Regions from separate parts of the Homo sapiens genome. Here region 1 is linked to region 2. Evidence: promoter capture Hi-C in human tissues and cell types (Jung and others, 2019). All regions are on one chromosome and are shown on one strand. The core of a region is centred on a gene start or on the middle of the fragment in contact, and the rest is flanking DNA. Distances in the headings are between cores, read along the strand shown.

What was found. Contacts are between HindIII fragments. The study calls those that stand out against the background at their distance.
Region 1: a fragment that was not itself captured here is called in contact with the fragment with the promoter of LCAT in region 2 in 1 of the 25 tissues and cell types used here (dorsolateral prefrontal cortex).

What each region holds. Positions count from the first base shown.
Region 1 is chr16:67,589,998-67,595,883 of GRCh38, forward strand. All of the region lies in intron 2 of CTCF (CCCTC-binding factor), which reads left to right. Among named protein-coding and RNA genes, the nearest start is that of CTCF, 30 kb to the left of the region's middle. The HindIII fragment of the contact is 6,285 bases long and covers 1-5,363 here.
Region 2 is chr16:67,942,870-67,948,664 of GRCh38, forward strand. It overlaps LCAT (lecithin-cholesterol acyltransferase), which reads right to left and starts at 1,251. Exons shown (of 6, transcript NM_000229.2): 1 at 1,079-1,251; 2 at 187-343; 3 at 1-107. The coding sequence starts at 1,232. SLC12A4 (solute carrier family 12 member 4) reads right to left here. Exons shown (of 24, transcript NM_005072.5): 14 at 5,192-5,290; 15 at 4,800-4,919; 16 at 4,462-4,566; 17 at 4,068-4,236; 18 at 3,569-3,764; 19 at 3,302-3,471; 20 at 3,082-3,213; 21 at 2,895-3,002; 22 at 2,500-2,684; 23 at 2,218-2,351; 24 at 605-2,062. The coding sequence ends at 1,971. RefSeq lists an enhancer at 1-382. The HindIII fragment of the contact is 35,269 bases long and covers 1-5,795 here.

The DNA of each region.
Region 1 (5,886 bases), core at 971-3,470, 350 kb before region 2:
AATCACTTGAACGCAGGAGGCGGCCGTTGCAGTGAGCCAAGATGGCGCCATTGCACTCCAGACTGGTCAACAAGAGCGAAACTCCGTCTCAAAAAAAGAAAAAGAACAGTTAGAACTTTTTTTTTTTTTTTTAAAGAAGAGAGTTCCTTTCTACAGCAGCGTCAGCCACCTTTTGGCGAAAGAATTATTGTCTAGCCTTTATTATTCTTTGTAGCAAAAGAACTCCTTCCCCTCCTCCCATACTAGTTTCACTGTTGCCATTACAAATATTTTATTAGTACGTATTTCCTAGATTCAAAGCTTCAGTGGGCTTTCTTCAAGTAGCTGTTAGAATAATTGTTTTGTTTTGACCATACCCTTTAATATTAACAAATGGGAGGGGAGATTGTTAACAAAATACTAGAATGCTCTTAACTTTTTTTTTAACTTAGAAGAAACATTTTCATTTCCCTTTTAATTATTTCTACACACACACATACAAAAAGCCCTGTTATTTTATAATTTTTTATTTTTATTTTTTTAGTAGAGACAGGGTTTCACTGTGTTAGCCAGGATGGTCTCGATCTCCTGACCTTGTGATCTGCCCACCTCGGCCTCCCAAAGTGCTGGGATTACAGGCGTGAGCCACCGTGCCCGGCCCTAACTGTTCTTTTAAAAATTGGCCGAGCACGGTGATCGGCCAGGTGTGATGGCTCACACCTGTAATCCTAGCACTTTGGGAGGCTGAGGAGGGTGGATCAGCTGAGGTCAGAAGCTCAAGCCCAGCGTGGCCAACATGGCGAAACCCTGTCTCTACTAAAAATACAAATATTAGCCGGACATGATGTTTGGTGCCTGTAATCAATCCCAGCTACTTGGGAGGCTGAGGCGGGAGAATCGCTTGAACCCGGGAGGTGGAGGTTGCAGTAAGCTGAGATGGCACCATTGCACTCCAGCCTGGATGACAGAGTGAGACTCTGTCTCAAAAAAAAAAAAAAAAAAAAAAATGCTGGACTGGGTGGCTCACACAAATGCTGTGATTACAGGCGTGAGCCACCGTAATCCCAGCACTTTGGGAGGCCGAGGCGGGCAGATCACTTGAGGTCAGGAGTTTGAGACTAGCCTAGCCAACATGATGAAACCCCATCTCTACGAAAAATACAAAAATTAGCTAGTCGTGGTGATGCGTGCCTGTAATCCCAGCTACTCAGGAGGCTGAGGCTGAGAATTGCTTGAACACAGGAGGCAGAGATTGCAGTGAGCCAAGATCTCACCACTGCACTCCAGCCTGGGTGACAGAGCGAGACTCTGTCTCAAAAAATAAATGAAAATTAATGTCAGAGAAGTGAGAGGTACAGTTGTGATTAAATAGATGAGTGCTTTTTCAGATAAAGGCTGCTTCCGTTCCCAGTCACTGTGAAAGAAATGGTCACTATTATTTTTCTGCTTCTCAGCCCAAGTTATTCTCCCAATTCAACTCCTCCTCATTCTTTATTGTAGTCTACAACTTTCCTGGTACTAGTTCACTGATACTTTGCTTTGATGTATTTTAAGCTCTCAGATAAGATGATGGCGTATATGTTTTCAGGAATAGCAGAGTAAAATGGTTATTTTGTTTAACTTTTAAACCTAGCTTTTACTCTAAAAGAGTTAATAACTTTTATTCGTTTTGGCTAGTGTCCTGCATCTAGTAAAAGTTACTTAGCTTTTCCTTTCATCCTCAGGAAAAACTGATTACTTTTTTTGGGGGGGGGCAGTAAGGGCACAGAGTCTTGCGCTGTCACTCAGACTGGAATGCAGTGGTGTGATGATAGCTTACTGCAGCCTGGGCTCAGGCGATCCTCCCGCCTCAGTCCCGAGTAGCTGGGACTACAGATGGATGCCATCATACCTAGCTAATTTTTTTTTTAATTTTTAATGGAGACAAGGTCTCACTATGTTGCTCAGGCTGGTCTTGAACTCCTGGGCTCAAACGATTCTCTTGGCTCTGCCTCCCCAAGTACTGGGATTATATGTGTGAGCCACTGTGCCCGACCTGATGACTTATAATTGCTTTTTTTCCCCTCCTTGTCCTAATGTCATTTAACATTCTGTATAGTGAGAATACCAGACTAAGCTTTTCAGTCAACATTTTTCTAATGTAAAGATCTATCGACTGGACGCAGTGGCTCACACCTGTAAACCCAGCACTTTGGGAGGATGAGGCGGGCACATCACCTGAGGTCAGGAGTTTGAGACCAGCCTGGCCAACATAGTGAAACCCTGTCTCTACTAAAAATACAAAAATTTGCTGGGCATAGTGGTGTACGCCTGTGATCCCAGCTGCTCAGGAGGCTGAGGCAGGAGAATTGCTTGAACCCTGGAGGCAGAGGTTGCAGTGGCCGGGATTGTGCCACTGCGCTCCAGCCTGGGTGGCAGAGCAAGAATCTGTCTAAAAAAATAAATAAGGCCAGGCACAGTGGCTCATGCCTGTAATCCCAGTAATTTAGGAGGCTGAGGTGGGAGGATCACCAGAGCTCAGAAGTTTGAGACCATCCTGACCAGTATGGTGAAACCCTGTCTCTACTAAAAATATAAAAATTAGCCGGCATGGTGGCATGCGCCTGTAGTCCCAGCCACTCGGGAGGCTGAGACATTAGAATTATTTGAGCCCAGGAGGCGGAAGTCGCAGTGAGCCAAGATCGTGCCACTGCACTGCAGCCTGGGTGACAGAGTGAGACTCCGTCTCAAAAACAACAACATCAAAAAAAGATACTTACAGAGGCCAGGCGTTGGTGACTGGCTCAACGTCAGTAATCTCAGCACTTTGGGAGGCCGAGGTGGGTGGATCACTTGAGCTCAGGAGTTTGAGACCAGCCTGGCCAACATGGTGAAACCCCGTCTCTACTAAAAATACAAAAATTAGCGGGGCACAGTGGCATGTGCCTGTAGTCCCAGCTACTTAGGAGGCTGAGGCAGGAGAATCGGTTGAACCTGGAGGCAGGGGTTGCAGTGAGCCGAGATCGCGCCACTGCATTCCAGCCTGGGTGACAGAGTGAAACTCCATCTGGAAAAAAAAAATTTATATATATATGTATAAATGTTTAATATATATTTTATATTTATATATTTGTATATCTTTTTTATATTTTAATATATGGTTTTTAATATATATTTTATACATATAAAGAGAAAGGTGCAAGGTATCTTCTGTTCTCTTAAAATTTTTTACAATTTCAACTTTTATTTTAGATTCGGGGGTACATGTCCAAGTTTTTTTGTGTACATGGGTATATTGTGTGATTATGAGGTTTGGGGGTACAATTGTTGCTCATCACCCAGGTAATGAGCATAGTACCCAATGATTAGTTTTGCAGCCCTTACCCCGTTTTCTCCCTCCCCCTCCTAATCCCTAAGGCCTATTGTTATGTTTATGTCCATGTGTACCCAGTGTGTAGCTTCCACTTGTAAGTGAGAACATGAGATACTTGGTTTTCTGTTCCTGCCTTAATTCGCTTAGGATAATGACCTCCAGCTGCATCTGTGTTGCTGTAAAGGACATTATTTCATTCTTTTTTATGGCTGTGCGTTCTCTGCCTTCTTATGATGTCTGAGGGTTCGTATCAACCTCTGTTAGGCCATTTGTTAGGTACCCTTCATGTTGACTTTCAGAATTTCTGTGGCTTGTGAAAGTTCATGGGGTCTTAGAGCTGCTAATGTATTTCTTACCAAGAGAATGCAGATAGACTTCTGATCTCCCCAGGAAATAAGTTGGGGTTTTTAGCAATCAGTTGCCCCTTATAATGGATAGTAAGCAGTATATTAAAAAGTTGTGGGTTTAGTTATAAAATAGACTGCTGGAAATCATTCTCTTCTACTGTCTTATTCTCAGTACACATGGATTATTCCTAGTATAATAACCAGTCTACTTAACTGACTAAACTCTGCAGTGGTGAGTATAAAAGGTTGTTTTGGTTGTTTTCCTTTGGAAATTGTCTGACATATTTGCTATGTAGTCATAATCATAGGTGATAAATTACTAAACCTTAATATCTTCAAAAATTAGTGTATTCACAATTAGCTTCCATTTTTACATGGCAGGATTTTAAAAAATCTAACCTGTAATTGTGTTTTTGGGAATTTTTATTTTTCTCTATTAAGAAGTGACACAGGCTGAGCATGGTGGTTTATGCCTGTAATCCCAGCACTTTGGGAGGCCACTTGAGCTTAGGAGACCAGCCTAGGCAATACAGTGAGATCCCATCTCTGTAAAATAAAATGAACCAAGTATGGTGGCACATGCTTGTAGTCCCAGCTACTTGGGAGGCTGAGGTAGGAGGATCACTTGAACCCAGGATGTCAAGGCTGTAGTGAGCCTTGATTGTGCCACTGCACTCCAGCCTGAGCGACAGGGTGGGACCCTGTCTCAAAAAAAAAAAAAAAAGGTGTAAGAATTGACACAGGCTAGTTGCAGTGGCTCATGCCTATATTCTCAGCATTTTGTGGGGGATGAAGTGGGAGGATCCCTTGAGCCCAGGGGTTCGAGAACAGCCTGGGCAACATAATGAAACTTTGTCTTTCAAAGTTTCTAAACTTTGCATCACTAAAAAAATAGTGATGCGTAAAAAAACTTCGCATCACTAAAAAAATAGTGATGCAAAGAGAGCAATAAAGGTAAATTCGTATACTTAGGCTTTCACTTAGCATATAAACAGTGTTTTGTTTTTCCATGTTCCCTTCCTGCTCTTGTCCTGTGCAGGAACCATCTATACCTGTTTCATCTGACAAAGTCAGTGAGAATTCCTGTTTGTCTAACACTGTTTTGTATCCATTGCTGTAGAGACTACAGAAACAAAAGGCATAGTTACTGCCCTTAAAAAGCTAATACTGGGGGAAAAACACATAGAACATTATGCTACAGTTAAAACTTGTGGTCAGTTTGTACTGGTCAAGGTTGAGATGACTTTGATTTAGAAGGTGACTTGAGCTGGGAAGGGACAAGACATCAGATACTGATATAGAAGATGCCCAGCAGGAAATAGTCAAAGGTGAGGTTGGGTGGGTGGAAGGGAATGGGAACAAACTGTACAGAGCTCTGGGAGCTAAGATGGAGAATTTGGACCTGATTCAGTCAGCATCACCAATCATGAATTTTTGGAATTTTTGAGCCTCATTTCAGGAAGGTTTAATGTGGCGTCAATATTCTGGATAGAACAAGACTGGCCAGCCTGCAAAGCTGTTCTGTCTCTTCCTACCACCCTCCCCCACCCTTCCTTTGACTCACCTCAAACTTCTGGGCCCAAGCCATCCTCCTGCTTCAGCTTCTCAAGTAGCTGGAACTATAGGTACAAACCACCATGTCTGGCTTGTTCTGTTTCTTTTTTACTCTTTCTCCTTCATTCCTGGATTTAGTCAGTCACCAGCTTCTGTCAACTGATTGTACCTTCATCGTACAGAAATCCAGTACTTTATCAGAGAAGTCATTTTTGTGGGGAAAATTTATCAAAGGTTTAGATAAGATTAGATTCTAGGAATCTAATTAGAAAGCTAAGAAGCCAAAAAAGCATATATTGTTGAGTTAACCATGTTGAATGTCTTCTTGGCTGGCGGTATAAGGATACAGAGGATGGCAGTTGGCACCATGCATGTATTGTTTCATTGGGTTTTTATGATAGCCTGTGAAATGGGTACCATTTCCTTATTTTATAGAAAAGAAAACTGCAGCGAGAAGGTAGCATATCTCACCCCAGGTCACAATGCTAATTAGAAAAACCAGAATTGGGATGCACGTCTCTGACTCTTAACAGTGATTCCATTCTGCCTCTCCTGTCCGCCCTCCCTTTTTAAATATAGAACAAACATTTTCTCCATATTATGTATTAAAGCACTATTTTTGATGTCTACGATTCACACCACCAATTACCTTCA
Region 2 (5,795 bases), core at 1-2,500:
TGCTGCTGTCCAGGTACTCCACAGAGTAGGTCTTGCCAAAGCCAGGGACGCGGATCTGGACACCAGGGGCGTTGGACACGAGCCCAGAGCTCCGGTTGTAGACAACCCTGCGGGGCGGGGGTGCCACTCAGCAGCCAGTAGCCAAGGGGCAGCGTGTTGGGGCTAGGGTGGAGCACATGGCTGTACCTGGTGTTATCGATCCAGCAGTCTACCCCAAGGGGTAGGAACATGTTGAGATCCAGCCAGATGGTGAAGAAGTCCTCTGTCTTGCGGTAGCACATCCAGTTCACCACATCTGGTTTGTCCAGCTTGGCTTCTAGCTGATTCCCCAGGCAGCCGGGCACTGTGAGCAGCAGCCCTCACTCTGGACTCTGGATTCCCCCCGTGACCCTTACCCCCGTCACCCCAGATGCTGCAGTGACCAGACCCACCCCCCACCTCCCATACCCTCAACCCCCAGGTACAAAGCACACTTACCCTCCCCTGCTTACACCCCCTCTCCCTGCTGTCCCCCCAGTAGCCAAAGCCCAGGCTTCCCTGAGGAAGGGAAGGCGCTGAGGTGCTGAGGCCAAGGCCGCTGACCCCTGCCTCTGCAGAGCAAACACCCAGTCTGGCGCTCCTTTATTGCCAAAGTCCAAGGTGGGAACAGATAGGTCTGGGGGCATGGGGGCTGGGCCTAATAGGGGCCGGGCATGGATGGGCCTCTCCTGCTCACCGATCCTGGGCTGGGCATCTTGTCCTTGGTGGGTGGGGGCCAAGGAAGGAGTGGTGGGGCTTGGCCCAGAGTCTGGTGTGGCTGTGACTGACCACAGCTTGTGATGCCCCAGCCAAGACCTCAGGCACACCCCGTCCCCCACTCCGCCCCCCCTGGGTTAGACAACTGAGAGTCACAGTGTGGTGGGAGAAGGGACGTCATTCCTCTAAGGGACAAGCTTTTGGCCCCTCCCCACACCAGGGCAGGTACTTATGTCGGGGCTTATGCAGGGCAGAAGGGCTTTGGCCAGGTCAGCTGCCAGGGGCTGGGGCCCAGGCTCCCCAGGGTCTGGCGTGGTGCATCAGGGGCCTGGTGGGGGCTTACCGAGGATGACGGGCCGTGTGTGGTTACTGAGCTCAGCCTTGGGCGTGGTGTGCGGGGGGAAGAGCACATTGAGGAGCCAGAAGGGGGCGGCAGGAGGGAGCAGCAGCCCCAGCAGCAGCGTCACCCACTGCCATGGGGAGCCGGGCGGCCCCATTCCAGCCCTGGTGCCTACTGCCAGAGAAAGCGGCACTGGGCTGTCCTTATCTGGTGTGGGAGTGGGAGGGGCCCTAGGGCCAGTGGGAGGGACGGCCTGGCCAGTGGGGGTTGTGGCCAGAGATTGCCGGAAAGGGGCACAGCCTCAGGGAGCCGGCTCTGGGCCTGGGTTCAGTTCCGCCTTCTTCTCTTGGCGCCAGGGGAAACAGAGCCGGGGCAGCAGGAGGCCCAGAACTACACAATGTTTTATTGAAAAAGTCAGGCCTCAGCTCAGCTGTCTCCATTCGGCTCAGCTTGGTGGGGGGCCCTGCCCATAGTAGACTGAGCCAGATCTTCCTGCAGGCAGCTGGGCTGGACTCCCTCCCTGGCTACCCTTCCCTTCGTCTCTGATGGTGACATCCAAACAATAAATATGCAATAAATAGCGCTCCTGGGCTGGGCCGGGCCGGCTGCCTTCAAACCCCACTCGGCCCCTACCAGTCTTCTCTGGCCAGGACAGGCCTACTGGGGTGCTAGATAGTAAAGTCCCCAAACATCCCAGGGTCCCACAAGACCTGGGATCCATCTCCATTTTGAGGCCCAGGCCTGGTTTCCAAGGAGACCTAGCAAAGCTGGGTCCAGGACAGGGCCAGGCAAGCAGGGCTGGCAGGTGGGTGCTGGGAAGAGGCTGTTACCCCAGACCACAGCTTGTTATGTCCTGGCCAAGACCTCGACTCCAGGCCACAAGATGACACTGGGCTCAGGAGTAGATGGTGATGACTTCACGGCCACCACCGCGCACCAACAGCACCCGCTCAAGGCCCTCGGTCAGCACCTCGAGGAACTCCATGTCTGCAGGGCCTCAAGTCAAGGAGGCAACAACAGAATCAACGGGCAACCCGGGCCACCTGGGCCATGCCCACCCAGGGGTGCCCAGGAGAGAAGCCGCTGGCTTGACCTCCCATGCTATCCACCTCCCAACTGCCTGCCTCTCCACAAAGGGATACAGTTCTCGTCGCCCTCACTGTTCCTGGGTGGGCCAGGCATGTTTAGGAGAACCAGGCGGGCGTCGTGGGAGCGCGTGACAATGACTTCATTGAGCTTCACAGCAGTGTGCATGCGCCGCACATTGGATTGGTCCCTACACGTAGTGTAGCCAGTCACAGGTCGCCATGAGCCATCCTGCAAGGAGGGTCCCCACCCCTGGCCCATCTAACACTACTTGTCTGCCCCACCCCACCTCCACCCCTAGATTCCAGTGCCGCTGGGGCTGTTTTTGCTGCACTCACGGCTTAATGTGCACCAGCTCCCGGAAATTGTCAGGGGCATGGCTGGGGTCCCAGGTCTCAGTCATGTACTTGTCCCTGGTCCACGTCATCTGGATCTTGTCAGCCCCCACTGCAGACTCATCTTCCTCGTCCGAGTACAGGCTCTCCAGCCGCAGGGCCGAGTGCCGATCCTTGACCAGCTGGGCCTGAGGACAATTGCAGGAGATAGCCTTGGTCCCATAGGAAAAGGGGGATGGGGCCTGTCTGGCCCAATGTGACCACCTTGCCTCCGGGAAATGAGCACTAGCTTGGGTAGGGCTGCGGTGAGTCATTCTGATTCCTCCGCACCCACCGATGCGGTCTCCAAAGGCCTGACCCTGCCACCCGCCCTGGCGTGAACCACAAAGGGCACTGACTTCTCGCTCCCGCTCAGTCTTGGTCAGTCTCATCTGCCGCAGCATCTGCGACCGCTGCTCCATCATCAGCGTCCGCTCGTAGGTGTATGCAGAGATGTCACTGTTATGCTGGGGACAGGGTTGGCCGTGAGGACCCAGCTGCACGGGACATGGTATCCACGGGGCCAGGGCAGGGCAGAGGGCTCACCATCTCCACCACCTCCACCTCGGCCTCAAGGCGCAGATGGTACAGAAAGACAGCCAGGTCCTTCTTCATCTGGATGCTGTTGTCATCCATCTGGGCCACTGTGAAGATGCGCATCCGGCACTTCCTCCAGACCTGAGGCAAGGGACCAGGTGGGCGGTTTGGTCACAGCTGCTCCTCCAAGGGCCTAGCCCCTCTCATCTGCACCCACCCCCTGGTCTACCTTATGCTGGCGCAGCAGGAAGGGCAGAAGCATGAGCATGCCACCATCGTGCACGATCCACCACACGTCTATGTGGCCCTCCAGGTAGCGCTCGTGGTTGCTGGGGTAGAAGGCGATGTTCTTGGGCACGAGCAGGGCCAGGTGGGCAGCCGTAGTGCAGCGCACGGTGTCTGGGGAGGAGGAGCACGGCTGACCACCAGTCTGTGGCCCTCCGCCCACTGCCACCTCACTTCACCCCTGCCCACCAGGCCCCAGGCCTTCACACACCAATGAAGGTCTTCCAGGCACGGGGGTCCTCGCTCTGTCGCCAGCCGTAGGGCCAGCCCAGCACCACGGAGTTATGCCGCATGCCTCCCAGGCCACAGGACTGGATGAGGTGGGCCAGCCCCTCCCGCACCTTGCTGGCCACCACCACCTGGCAGAAGCCCTTCACCTTCTCAATTTCCATCATGTTCTTGATGGTCTGTGGGGAACACACCCAGGGCCAATGGGAGGCCATCAGCTTCCTGCCTCTGGGCTCCCTCCCAAGGCCCCTCGGGAACAAAACGACTTTTGGGTGGAGGAGGGCCTGGGGGCAACAAGCTGCCTACCCAGAGGCCAAGTTTTCAAGATGGGACTGCTGGCTCCCCCTTGTGCCAGCTCTCAGGTGGCAGCAGTGCTGGCTGCCTGGCTGGCCACCCTGGCCAAGACTGGGCCCTCCCCTCCGTGCCAGCTGCAGTCCAGACCCCTGTAGTCTGGCTCAGCTCTCCCTCCCCAAAGCAAGTACCTGCTCGGCGGCCTGAGCCTCGCCATAGCTCTCCAAGAAGCTCCCCTGGATGACAGAACCAACAATGGTCAGGCCCTTGCCAGCCTTGAGCTGGGAGGCGAAGGTGAGGAGCCGCGGGTACTTCACGTGGAGGTCCTCGTCCAGCTTCAGCAGCACCAGCAGCTGCGGCCTGCAGTGGCCGGGTGGGGGGAGCCTGAGACCAGGGCCGGCCGTTCTAGGGAGCCCCTCCTCTTCTTCCCTTCTCGGGTCGTGGTCCCTGCAGGTTTGGGTAGCATGGCCCAGGAGGGTGCCCCGGGCAGCCCCAGGATGGGGAGCCGGCACCTCTCGACCCTCTGACCCCGACAGCGACCCCTAAGAACCTCTGCGCCCTGGCCAGGGTCTGGCGGGAACTCACCGCCAGTTCTTGGTGTGAGGAGGCCCCTCCTCCAGCCGCAACAGCGCGTAGCGGGCAGCGCTCAGGGACAGGCCTCGGATCCCGTCACCCCACTCCTTCTCAGCCCTGCAGATTCCACCACAGCTGGTGAGCCCCTGGTGCCGCCCAGGGGGTTCTGTCTATGTGGATGCGAGGTGGAGGGGTTCTGCCCCTCAAGACCACCCAGGGGTCCTGAGTTACAGTCCCCAGTCCTGGCACCCACGGTGGCCCAGCTCCCTGCCCACCCCAATGCCAGACCACCCTGCCTGCTCGGCCGGGCCCCCTCAGCTGGCAGAGGCCAGGTGGCAGTGCTCACTCACCCTTGGTACTCGATGTATTTGTAGATCATGCCGGCGATGAGCATGGCCACCAGGGCATAGTACCAGGAGGAGACAAACATAAGGGCCAGGCAGAGACTCATGCCCAGGAAGGACAGCGCCCTGGACGAGAGGGGAGGGCAGAGTCAGGGCAGGACCAGGAGGACCCCTGGCCACAGCCTGGCCCATGCCCTGGTAGCCCTGTCAGGTCCCGGGTGGGAGGTCCCAGGTGGGTGGTCAGGTCACTGGGTGTAAGACCTAGGTCCAGTCCCCCGCAGCCCTATAATCTCCCTCCCCACAGTGTTTCAAGAGCTCCCTACCCAGGAAACCCAAGCCTCACCCAGAATGAGGCTCCTGGCCTCCCCAGGGTCTCCCGTGTCAGAGGCATGGCTCACCAGTGATAGTACTTGAACCGGGGCCGCCAGTTGGGGGTCCTCAGGAGTGTCTGCACCGCACAGGCGAGGTTCACGAACAGGTAGCACATCAGAAAGAACCTGCGGCACAGAGGGCGGTTGGCGAAGAGCAGCCTCCTCGGCAGCTGGGGACCTGATGTCAGGCTGGGCCTGGCCCAGAAACGGGGCGTGGCCCGGCCCTGCCCTGCATGGCTCAGCAAGGTCTTCTCAACCTCATTGCTGCCACCTCCATGGCCTGAGGCAATGAGACTACTGTGGAGGAGTCCTCGGAGCCAGATCGCAGAGGATGGGCAAGGGTTTGCTGTTGGAGGAGGTAGGAAGGGGAGTAACAGGGCAGAGCTGAAGAGGGTGGTGCAGGGGCAGCAGGAAGAGCTCAGTGCCTGGAGACTCTAGGCCACATTCAGGCCTCTGGCCTGAGTGACCAGCTGGATGAGAGGCTGCCATGCATGAAGGGGAGGATGGAAGATAAGCTGGACCATTTGAATGCAACCAGTCAGAGATACTTAAGAGTCACTGCGGTGGGCGTGGGAGTCCCACGCATGGGCAGGGCCAGCTGCATGAGCCCTCCAGGAAGGCACCCGAGGAC